Regions from separate parts of the Homo sapiens genome. Here region 2 is linked to region 1. Evidence: promoter capture Hi-C in human tissues and cell types (Jung and others, 2019). All regions are on one chromosome and are shown on one strand. The core of a region is centred on a gene start or on the middle of the fragment in contact, and the rest is flanking DNA. Distances in the headings are between cores, read along the strand shown.

The links. The method cuts DNA at HindIII sites, captures the fragments that hold promoters and counts their contacts. A contact is called where the count stands out against the background at its distance.
Region 2: a fragment that was not itself captured here is called in contact with the fragment with the promoter of SORCS3 in region 1 in 1 of the 25 tissues and cell types used here (dorsolateral prefrontal cortex).

What each region holds. Positions count from the first base shown.
Region 1 is chr10:104,638,849-104,643,697 of GRCh38, forward strand. SORCS3 (sortilin related VPS10 domain containing receptor 3) reads left to right here and starts at 2,442. Exons shown (of 27, transcript NM_014978.3): 1 at 2,442-3,106. The coding sequence starts at 2,480. The HindIII fragment of the contact is 5,425 bases long and covers 1-4,849 here.
Region 2 is chr10:105,938,951-105,943,799 of GRCh38, forward strand. No RefSeq gene overlaps it. Among named protein-coding and RNA genes, the nearest start is that of LINC02627, 120 kb to the left of the region's middle. The HindIII fragment of the contact is 5,696 bases long and covers 1-4,849 here.

The sequences.
Region 1 (4,849 bases), core at 1,192-3,691:
TGCGCATAGGACTTGGGAGACCACACTCCTCCGGGCTGTGTGAGCCTCGGGTCCGCCCAGATCTCTTATACTGTGGCACCTCCGCCCAGAGCCTGAAGAGAAGAGCAGCACCGCGTCCCTCCCGAACCCCGAGCTTCGGCTCGGGCTGCAGCGCCGGGCCTCCTCCGGCAGGGGCGCTGGGAACTCGCGGATGGCCGGCTCTCGTCCAGCGCCCGATCCCGCGCCCACCTGGGCCTGCGGCGCTGGAACTTTTCTTAGGAATACCCGCTACTCCCTGTCTTTGGAAACCCACAGATGCCAGGACCCGCACCATTCTGGGCCGGACGTTGTCGCTGGCTTGGTTCTTTGGCCCAGCCTCCCCCGCTGCTAATTGCCATTTTGGCACCGGGTGGAAAGGCAAGTTCAAGAGGGCGGGGGCTCTCGGGAATCGCTGGATGTCTTCTTCCTTGGCCAGCTTAGATTCTCAGTCGCCTCTTCTGCCTCCTCCATCCCTCTTGGCTCTTACCTGGCGCCCTTTCGCCTCCTCTTCTATCTCCCTCTTCCTTTTGCACCATTCTCTCGCCCCTTTTCTCCTTCATCTTGTCTTTCCTCTCTCCCCTTTTCCCTCTATTTTCTCCTTCATTCCTTCCTCTCACCTTTCTTTCCTCTCCGCGCATTCCCCTCCCTCTCGCTCCACTTTAACCATCTTCTAGAGAGGAGGAACTCTATCTACTCCCGAAGGGGAGGAGCAGGGCTGGAGGCTGTCTCTCTCTCCCTAAGCCTCCTCCCTCCTGCCTCCTCCTTTCTTAATAGCTCCTCCTCTAGCTCCTCTAGTCTCAGACTTTTCAACCCCTAGAATCCCAGGGGCTTCTCGGAGGCGGCGAGCTACACCACATGTCCTGGGGCCTGTAAACCGCAGCTCGAGGTCGTCTGTGGGTTTAGCTCATTTCCCTTCAGCCCACCTGAAGTCTCCTTCTTCCTACGGTCACGAAGGATCTCAGCTGCACCAAGCGCGCAGGCTACACTCCTGCAGTAGCGGATTGGGGACCAGATAAGCCCACGCGGCTCCCGCCTGAGTACCCTCTTAACTGGCGGCCGACACTTTGAAACAATTGAGTCCGTTCAGAAACGGACTGGGGAGAGTGAGGGCACGACCTCAAAATCCTAGGCAGCAAAATGAGGTCTGGATCCTCCCTGGAAGAACAGACATCTCGACTACTCTCTCGCCCCACCTCTGGCCGGGAGGTCGGGGCAAGGAGAATCCCTCAACCGAGAAGATCTGGCAAGTCCCCGATCCCACCGGGGCCTTCCGCCTCTTTTCCCTCATCCCCTAGGAGGCTTTATCAGGTTCTAACCGCTTGTAGTGGGGGCCGTGGGTGCTCGGGGCGCCAAGAGGAGGGGGCTGCCGAGAGCGGCCTGCCTAGTTCTCAGCATTGCCTCTTTGACCACTCGCAGGCTCCTGGAAATGCAAACACAGCCCGTGCGTGATCCGCACGCGACCAAAAGCCGAGCGCACACCTCCCGCCCCCGCCCCACTTGCCATCGCTCACACTAACGTGCACACATGCTCGTGCAAACGCGCACGCACGGAACCGCGCGCCCCCTCACACCCAGCCGCGCTCCCGGCCCGGCTCAGCCAGGTGCCCCCACGCGGCAGCGCCCGGTCTGCCCGCCGGCCCCCTGCGAACCCCTCGCCTCACGCCCGCCTGCCTGCGCGCACGCACGCGCACGCACGCATTCCCCACGCCCCCGCGCGGGGGCGCAGGCCTTGGGTGGCGGGGTTTGGCCGGGAGCCGGCCGGGCCAGGGAGCGGCGAGCAGAGTCCAGGGTGCATCCCGCGCTTGGCTTCCGTGCGCAGCCTCCCCGCGCGGAGGCACCTGGCTCCCTCTCGGCTCTAGAACGCGAACAGTTGGCGTTGAGCACACAACTCCTCCTCCTTCTCCCCCGAGACCCCTGTACCCTCCCCGCGCGCCATCTCCCGCCCCTCATAACAGGCCCGAAGAGTAAACCCCCAAACGCGTCCAGAAGCGGCTCCCAACTCTTCGCCGGGAGCACGTTGGAGGCTGGATTTCGGAGAGACTCGGGATTGGGGTCTATTGCCGGCCCCTCCTGGATCCGGCTTGATTTTCATATTTTAAGAAGATTTTCTTATTACCTTTGATTACTCCTTTTTACCAAATTTCTGGAGGAGCTCAGTGGGGAGGATTGGGGGGAATCTGATTTTAAGAAAGAAAGCACCGAAGGGGCAATTATTAATTTTCCTCGGGTTTGGAATCACCCTCTGGACAAGAGAACGGGCGAGCGGGAGCTAGGAGGGAAGAGTGGAGAGGACCGGCGAGGCGCGCCAGCCGGAGCCACCTCCTTCCCGGCCGCCCCCTCCCCACTCCCCCTACACACACACGCTCGCTCGCTCGCCGGCGCGCGCACACCCCCCGCGCCGGACCCGCACCTCGGCGGGCGCCACACACTCGGCAGCCCGAGCCGCGGTAGCCGCAGCGGGATGGAGGCGGCGCGCACGGAGCGCCCCGCAGGCAGGCCGGGGGCGCCGCTTGTCCGGACGGGGCTCCTACTCTTGTCGACGTGGGTCCTGGCCGGCGCCGAGATCACTTGGGACGCGACAGGCGGTCCCGGACGCCCGGCGGCCCCGGCTTCGCGGCCACCGGCGTTGTCTCCACTCTCGCCGCGGGCAGTGGCCAGCCAGTGGCCGGAGGAGCTGGCGTCGGCGCGGAGAGCCGCCGTGCTGGGGCGCCGGGCCGGACCAGAGCTGCTGCCCCAGCAGGGCGGCGGCAGAGGCGGTGAGATGCAGGTGGAAGCCGGAGGGACATCACCGGCAGGCGAGCGGCGGGGCCGGGGCATCCCAGCTCCTGCCAAGCTTGGCGGCGCGAGGAGGAGTCGCCGGGCGCAGCCCCCAATCACCCAGGAACGCGGGGACGCCTGGGCCACTGCTCCGGCCGATGGTTCCAGAGGAAGCCGTCCCCTTGCTAAGGGTTCCCGGGAGGAGGTGAAGGCGCCGCGGGCTGGGGGGTCGGCGGCTGAAGACCTCCGGCTGCCCAGCACCTCCTTCGCGCTGACCGGGGACTCGGCCCACAACCAAGCCATGGTGCACTGGTCGGGACACAACAGCAGCGTGAGTACCCACCCGGCGGCGGGTCCGCCTGTTTCCTGACACCGAAGGGGAATGGGGGGGTGGGTGGGAGCGAGGGACAGATAGTTGCTCGGGGGTCGAGGCGGGGGACGCCTCGACTTTTCGAGATAACAGGTTTGTCCGATTCCCCCCACGCCCCCAACAGGTTAACGGAGTTTGTTGTTAGACGCTGTGTGTGTTTGTTTACTGGAGACCCTAGGCTTCGGCCGCCGGGAGGGGAGTGGAGGAAGGGGCTTCTTAAAGATGAGTGGGGGAGGGATCTGTGCTCACTTTCTCCAATACTTGGCTTGGAGGGTCAGTTTTCCTGTTTGCGGGGTGCTTGAATTCTTGGATGAGAAAAAGGGCTGACTTGGGGCGGGAGCCGCTGAACAGACCGATTCCTGCGGCTGCCGGGCTCCCCCTACCCCCACCCCACCCCCACCCCCCCTCCCGTCACGCGAAAGGGAACCCGGAAGGCCATTCGGACTCCCAGCCTCCTGCTCGCCTCGGGGTCGCTGCTATCCGCTCCAGGCGCGCAGTCCTCCAGCCCAAGAGGGAGGCTCGGCCAAGTCGGCCCCCAGCCTTGGCCTTCAGGTAACCCCGGTTCCTCCTTCAAAGTCCAGGGAGCGGCCCTGGAAAGCCGTAGCAGAGGCCGTAAAAAAAAGTTTAAAGCGTGAAGCGAAATTCCACACCCATCCAGCGCTCATGCCACACCGCTCGCCCTCACGCACGCACAGGCACACGGAAGTCGCTCAGCAGAAAACTCTCGACTTCACCATTGCGTCCTGCGCCACAAACGGCTCCCTGAGCGGAGTTGGGTGCCTGAGCTTCCTGCACACCTCTCCACCCGCTTTTCCCCGCCACCGGGTTCTCCTGGACAAGGATGTACCGAGAGGTGGCGTCGTTGAGCCCGGTCTGGCCTACTCCGGCATTCCGAACTGGGCGCCCGACTGAGCATCGCGCCTGCCTGGCAGCTGCAGCGGCCCGCAGCGCGTGCCCGGAGGGGCTCCCCCTACCTCGCCGGCACCCAGCGCTGTGCAGCCAAGCAAAGAAAAGGCGGGGGACAGGTTCCCACCATCTCCCCGACTTCCCTCCCTCCCGCGGTCCCTACTAGAGCCAGATTTGGAAAATCCTTTCCTCTTCTCTGGCTCCATGGTTCAGATCAGAACCTGGCGTTGGGTAGGGTGCACGCTCCAGGCGGAGGATGACGGGTGTCTGTACAAGCAGCCTTGGGGAACTGATTTGATAGGAACTCACCCCGCAACTCCCTGCCGTTTTGTATTTCTCTTCATGACCGGTGTTTGACAAAATTTCTCTGGGAAATTTTTGCCTTATTTTAACAGAGCCTGGGATGTCCAGGATTGGGTATCTAATAAGAGGAAAGCGAGGGGTCCGCAGAAGGTAGTACATAAGCAATACCAAAGTGCAGATTTCTTGGTTTCTAATGATGCACAGCGCGGGCAGCCCAGCCTGGGTAGCCCATGCTGGTCTTGAAGGACCAGTGAAGTCCAGCTTCGCAGCAGCGCGATGGCGGGCTTCATCTGCCTGGGATGAAGACCCCCGTAGCCTCGGGCTGACAGCTCTGGCGAGAGGGGTGGACAATGTGTGCCTTTGCAGGGCTGGGTGATTGAAGACTTCCAAGTCCCTTCCAAGAGGACTTGGATATGTGTGTGCTGGGGGGAGATTCTCTGACCTCAGGGTTGATTCTCTGACAGCAGGGGTTGTGAATCCCAACTTCATTTTAGT
Region 2 (4,849 bases), core at 1,142-3,641, 1.3 Mb after region 1:
AGGGTTGAGGGAATATTGAGGAGATACTGGTCAAAGATTCAAAATTTCAATTAGGTAGGAGAAATAAGTTCAGTAAATCTCTTGTACAACATGGTGAATATAGTTGAAAACAATGTACTGTATTCTTGATAATTACTGAGTAGATTTTAAGTGCTCTCCCTACAAAAAATAACTATGTGAGGTAATACATAGTTAATTAGCTTGATCTAGCCATTCCATAATGTATACATATTTCCATGCAACATATAGTACACAATAAATACATACAAATTTTACTTGTCAGTTGAAAACATTGAATACATTAAGACATAGCAAAACATCTGAAAGGAGATCTTAGAATGCAATAATCAGTGAACATGATTCCAAACACAAAAAGTGTTCACAAAAAGTGAACACAAAAAGATATTCATAAAGTTTAAAAAGTCTAATATGTACCAGACAGAGTTCACTGTTGCCAAGGATAATTTGAAATGGGCACATCTATTCCCTTTCAGTAACTGTGTAAATTGTGTAGCATTTCTAGAGAATTGTACTATATCTTAAAATATGCAGGCATATTAATCTAGAAATGTATTCAAGCAAAGAGAAAAAACGTGTGAAAATATGTTCATTGCATTAATGTCTGTAATACTAAAAAGAACTGAAAACAAATTGTGTCCATCAATAAAAGAACTGGACAAATTATTTATAAGCCATACATAATAAAACATTATGCAGCTGCTTAAAATTACAGTTTTTTTGGGATACCTAAGACATGAGTGAACTAACACAAATATAATACTGAAACCATTGGCTAAATGCATTTATTGATGTATGACTGGAATGGAGAAATGGAATAGAGAAAATTCACCAGAATGTTGACAGTGGTTTTCTATGAATGGAGGGTCTTAGCAGGTGTTGTCAATGCTCTTTCCATACCCACTAGCTTTTGTTTTTCCTATGCAAGCTTTTCTGTGCTCTACTGGCAATTTCTGGAACTCTGCCTCTCATCTTTCTCCAGCCCTATATGTGGAATAATCAGGAAGTGAGGAAAAACGAAGGTTGGGAGGACAGCCCTCTGGGAATGATAAATGGTATTTAGAGAATAAACAATCCAGCTTCGTCCCCCTTGGGTACAGGGGGTTACAGCTGTGAGGAATGGTCCCTGTTGTCTCCCAGAGGTCTCCAGGAGACTGAACTCCTGTTGTTTTCAGCAGTCAACTATTCATTAAGGCACCCTCATTGGATTCTTTCCATTGTCTTTATTCCATACTCTGCTAAGAGTACTTCCTGATTTCACCTTCCACATAGGTTAGTTGCACTCAAATCTTTGCCATAGCTGCTGCTTAGGAAAGCATAAAAATGAGTTGTTTGAATTTTTTTCTTTCTTCGTACTCTTTTCTACTGCTTACATATTTTTCTCTATGTATGTTTCTATATACACATGTAAATAACTTATGGTCCTCAAAATGAAATACTCACTTTCATAGGTCTGCAACACTCTTGACTCACAAACACCCTATCTGTGAACAAACTGCTCATGTCATACTGCCCTAAGCTTCTTCTGGACACTCAACTATAGTTTCCTAGGAACAGCCTGTCTTCTCTCTTGACCTGCTAGAAGACATATAGAGCAGCTTTCAGCATATCTCCTTCTCTAAGAGTATAATTAACTTGAGCACAGTGCACGGCACGTAGGCAGTACTCAATAGTATCTGGAAACTATATTAATGAATAAATGAATGATACCAAAGCTTGCTACTGAAATCTCTAAACTTCTGCCCCTGGAATTAATTGCCTACATTCTGGGACTAATCAAATTCTGCTTTGAGTAAGATATCTTTTTTTCAAATATCTGTCTAGGCAGATGATCATTAAGCATCTGGGTTGGCATGTGACCTGGGCAAGCTGCTGACACTCTCAAAGACTCAGTTTTCTCTACTTGAAAGTGATGGAGTGTTGATATGAGGATTAAAGGAGATTATTTATGTATAGCTTTGACAGTGTGTAATAGGAATTCAAACAGTAGAGAAGCATATGGATGTATCAGGATGTGTTCAACCTTTGAAGACTGGCCAGTTCTACACTGCACTATGTGATAGAGTCCTTTGTTAGGAACGTCTGCTGGCAAGGCAGTAGGCTGGAAATCAGAATCACTAATAATTTAGGAACTGCCTTTATATTCTTACACCTAACTTAGACATCTAAAAGAGTTTTGTTCTTTGAATATTCTAAAAGTGAATTGCCAAATTTATAGGTTCCATACTATTTATTCAATTTATATGGGCATCTTATTGTCCTGACATTCCATTTTTAAAAGCAGATTTTCCCCTTTGCCTTGGACAATACGTCAAAGTTTTAATTACCATATATCATAAACTCCTCTTAAAGCAATATAAAATATATATGTCCTATAATTTCAACAAGCTTCTACAACCATGTTTATTCACAATTATAAAGGCCAGAAGCATCTTTACTATATACAACTTCCATTAAATAACAGTTATTAAGTGCTGCCCTGCTCCGTGCAGTATATGTAAACTGCTAGATACGTCTTCCATAATATTAAAGATGTCCCTAACTAGCTTGTCTAGAGATTTACATTACTTAAGAAGTCCCATTGCTGGAAAAAGTTCCATGTACATAAAGATAAGTTAAACTTCCTAAACATGCTTTCCCAGTGACTAAAGATATTTGTGTGATTTGCTTTTGTGAGTGTCTGTCTGTCTGTCTCTCTCTCTCTCTCTCTCTCTCTCTCTCATATTTATCTGCCCTATTTGCTTATCTTTCTATTGCCTCCTATTCTGACCTCCATTTGGAGATGAAAATGTCACCCGTCATTGCAGATGTGTACACATGTGATCTTTAGATCTGGTAGACAAGGCTTTTCTTTTTTTTCTTTTTTTTTGCACTTGACTCTAACTGCATTTGTCAATGTTCTTTTCCATTGTCTTAGTTTCTGTTGAATACGCAGTACGTATACATACCTGAAAATGCTATATTCATTTTAGGAAACATTGATTTAAGCATAGACTAGATGACTTTTTAGGGGAAGATTTAAAAAATGTGCAAAAGGAAAAGCTAGCAGCCTTATAAAGTACAATTATATCAGCTCTATACATTGATAAAGGAATTTTTGTTTTAGGCTTGCAAAATATTTCTGCACATTATGATTAATTTTATATCTGTTTTCCAGAAATATGGAGGGACACAAAAGGTTTGGAAAGAATTCAGAGGAGATTATTAAGATGAACTGAATTTCCATAAAAGAAGCCAGATAGCTATCTACTAATGGCAATGGGCATATGGAACATGGTAGATAATTTTGAGCAGGGGTCACCTCGTCTCCAGCTTACACTTCTGAGAAAACAGAAATATTTTCAAGAAAGGAGAAAGAAAACAATATTCTGATCATGGTAATTCTAAGTTTTCAAATTCCTTGTGCATGTGTATGTTTCGGATTTTGAAGTTCTTTTTCCCCCCTCAGAAGTTGGTATATTTAGACTTGCTGAAAAACAGAGGAACAGATATTTAATACCCTAGCAAATTTCTCAGTTCTTTCTATCTGTAAGCTGGTTTGTTAAAGCCTTGAGAAAACCTTAACATTGCTATTAACTGGTGACAAATATATAGAAAAGTTACAGAGTCTCCGATATGTTATCATTTGCCTTATTGGTAAGTAAGTACATTTCTTTTCTTCTTTACCTACTGAGGCCATGAGGAGCCCTATGTGTTTTGGTACAAGTTAGAAAAAGCAATCCCATTAGTAAATATAGTGGTATTTTATGTTTTTATAATGCAAATGGAATGTCTGTACCAATGGCACCAAGCCAAAGATAGAACCATTTGGTCTGAAAGTTTTATGCAAACTAGGTTTGTGCTGGTTTTGTCTCTGTCTGTGACTGAGACAAATTAAACAGCAATTATATGAGACAGTCTTTTGTCTTCATGGAGAACTAAGATGTCTTTTATATATGAACTGATATTTTATTATTTTGTGCACTTACATTTTAAATTAATGGTCTAGTTAATTATAGTTGAATTCAAGTCAAAATTCTATAAAAGTGCAGGTGACTGGCATCCACATTAATATCAAATTGTTCATCAGGAGTCCTGTTATTAGAGTAAATACCAAGAAAATTTACTATGATTGGGTCATTATTTTAAAGTGTCCCAATTTTAACATTTTTTTTTCTGGACAGTTGTGTTTTATTAGGATTGGGTAATTTACATTCATTATACAGAGTCTTACTGTATCATAAATTAAGGAAACATTAAGAAAAAGCATGTAGATTTACAAGTTGACAGGCAATCAGAGCTTTATGTTTTAGAAATAGTTGAGGTTTGAATGAACATTAGGTCTCTTTACTTGAAGGAATTGAAAACATTCTTAAATAGAATTCCATCTCACCCAAGTTGGCATCAAGGTTGGTTGGGCCAAAGGTTATTAGTATGGGAAGGGGATTTAAGAAACAGTGTGATTGCTGTGGGAACTGATATTAAAAGCGCCACAGGGCTAAGTTGGACTTGAATTGCTAAACTTGGCCTCTCATACATAGCTCATCTATAGAACACGTGGAGCCATCTCCTTTTACTACAGTTTAAGAGGAAGTTATACATGATACCTCCTCTATTTTTTTAATCAACTTTTAAGTTCTGGGGTACATGTGCAGGATGTGCAGGTTTATTACACAGGCAACCATGGTTTGCTGCAAAGATCAACCCATTACCCAGGTATTAAGCCAAGCACCCATTAGCTGTTCTTCCTGATGCTCTTCCTCCCCTCGTCCGCCATTCAATAGGCCCTAGTGTGTGTTGTTTCCCACCATCCATCATGTGTCCACGTATTCTCATCATTTAGCTCCCACTT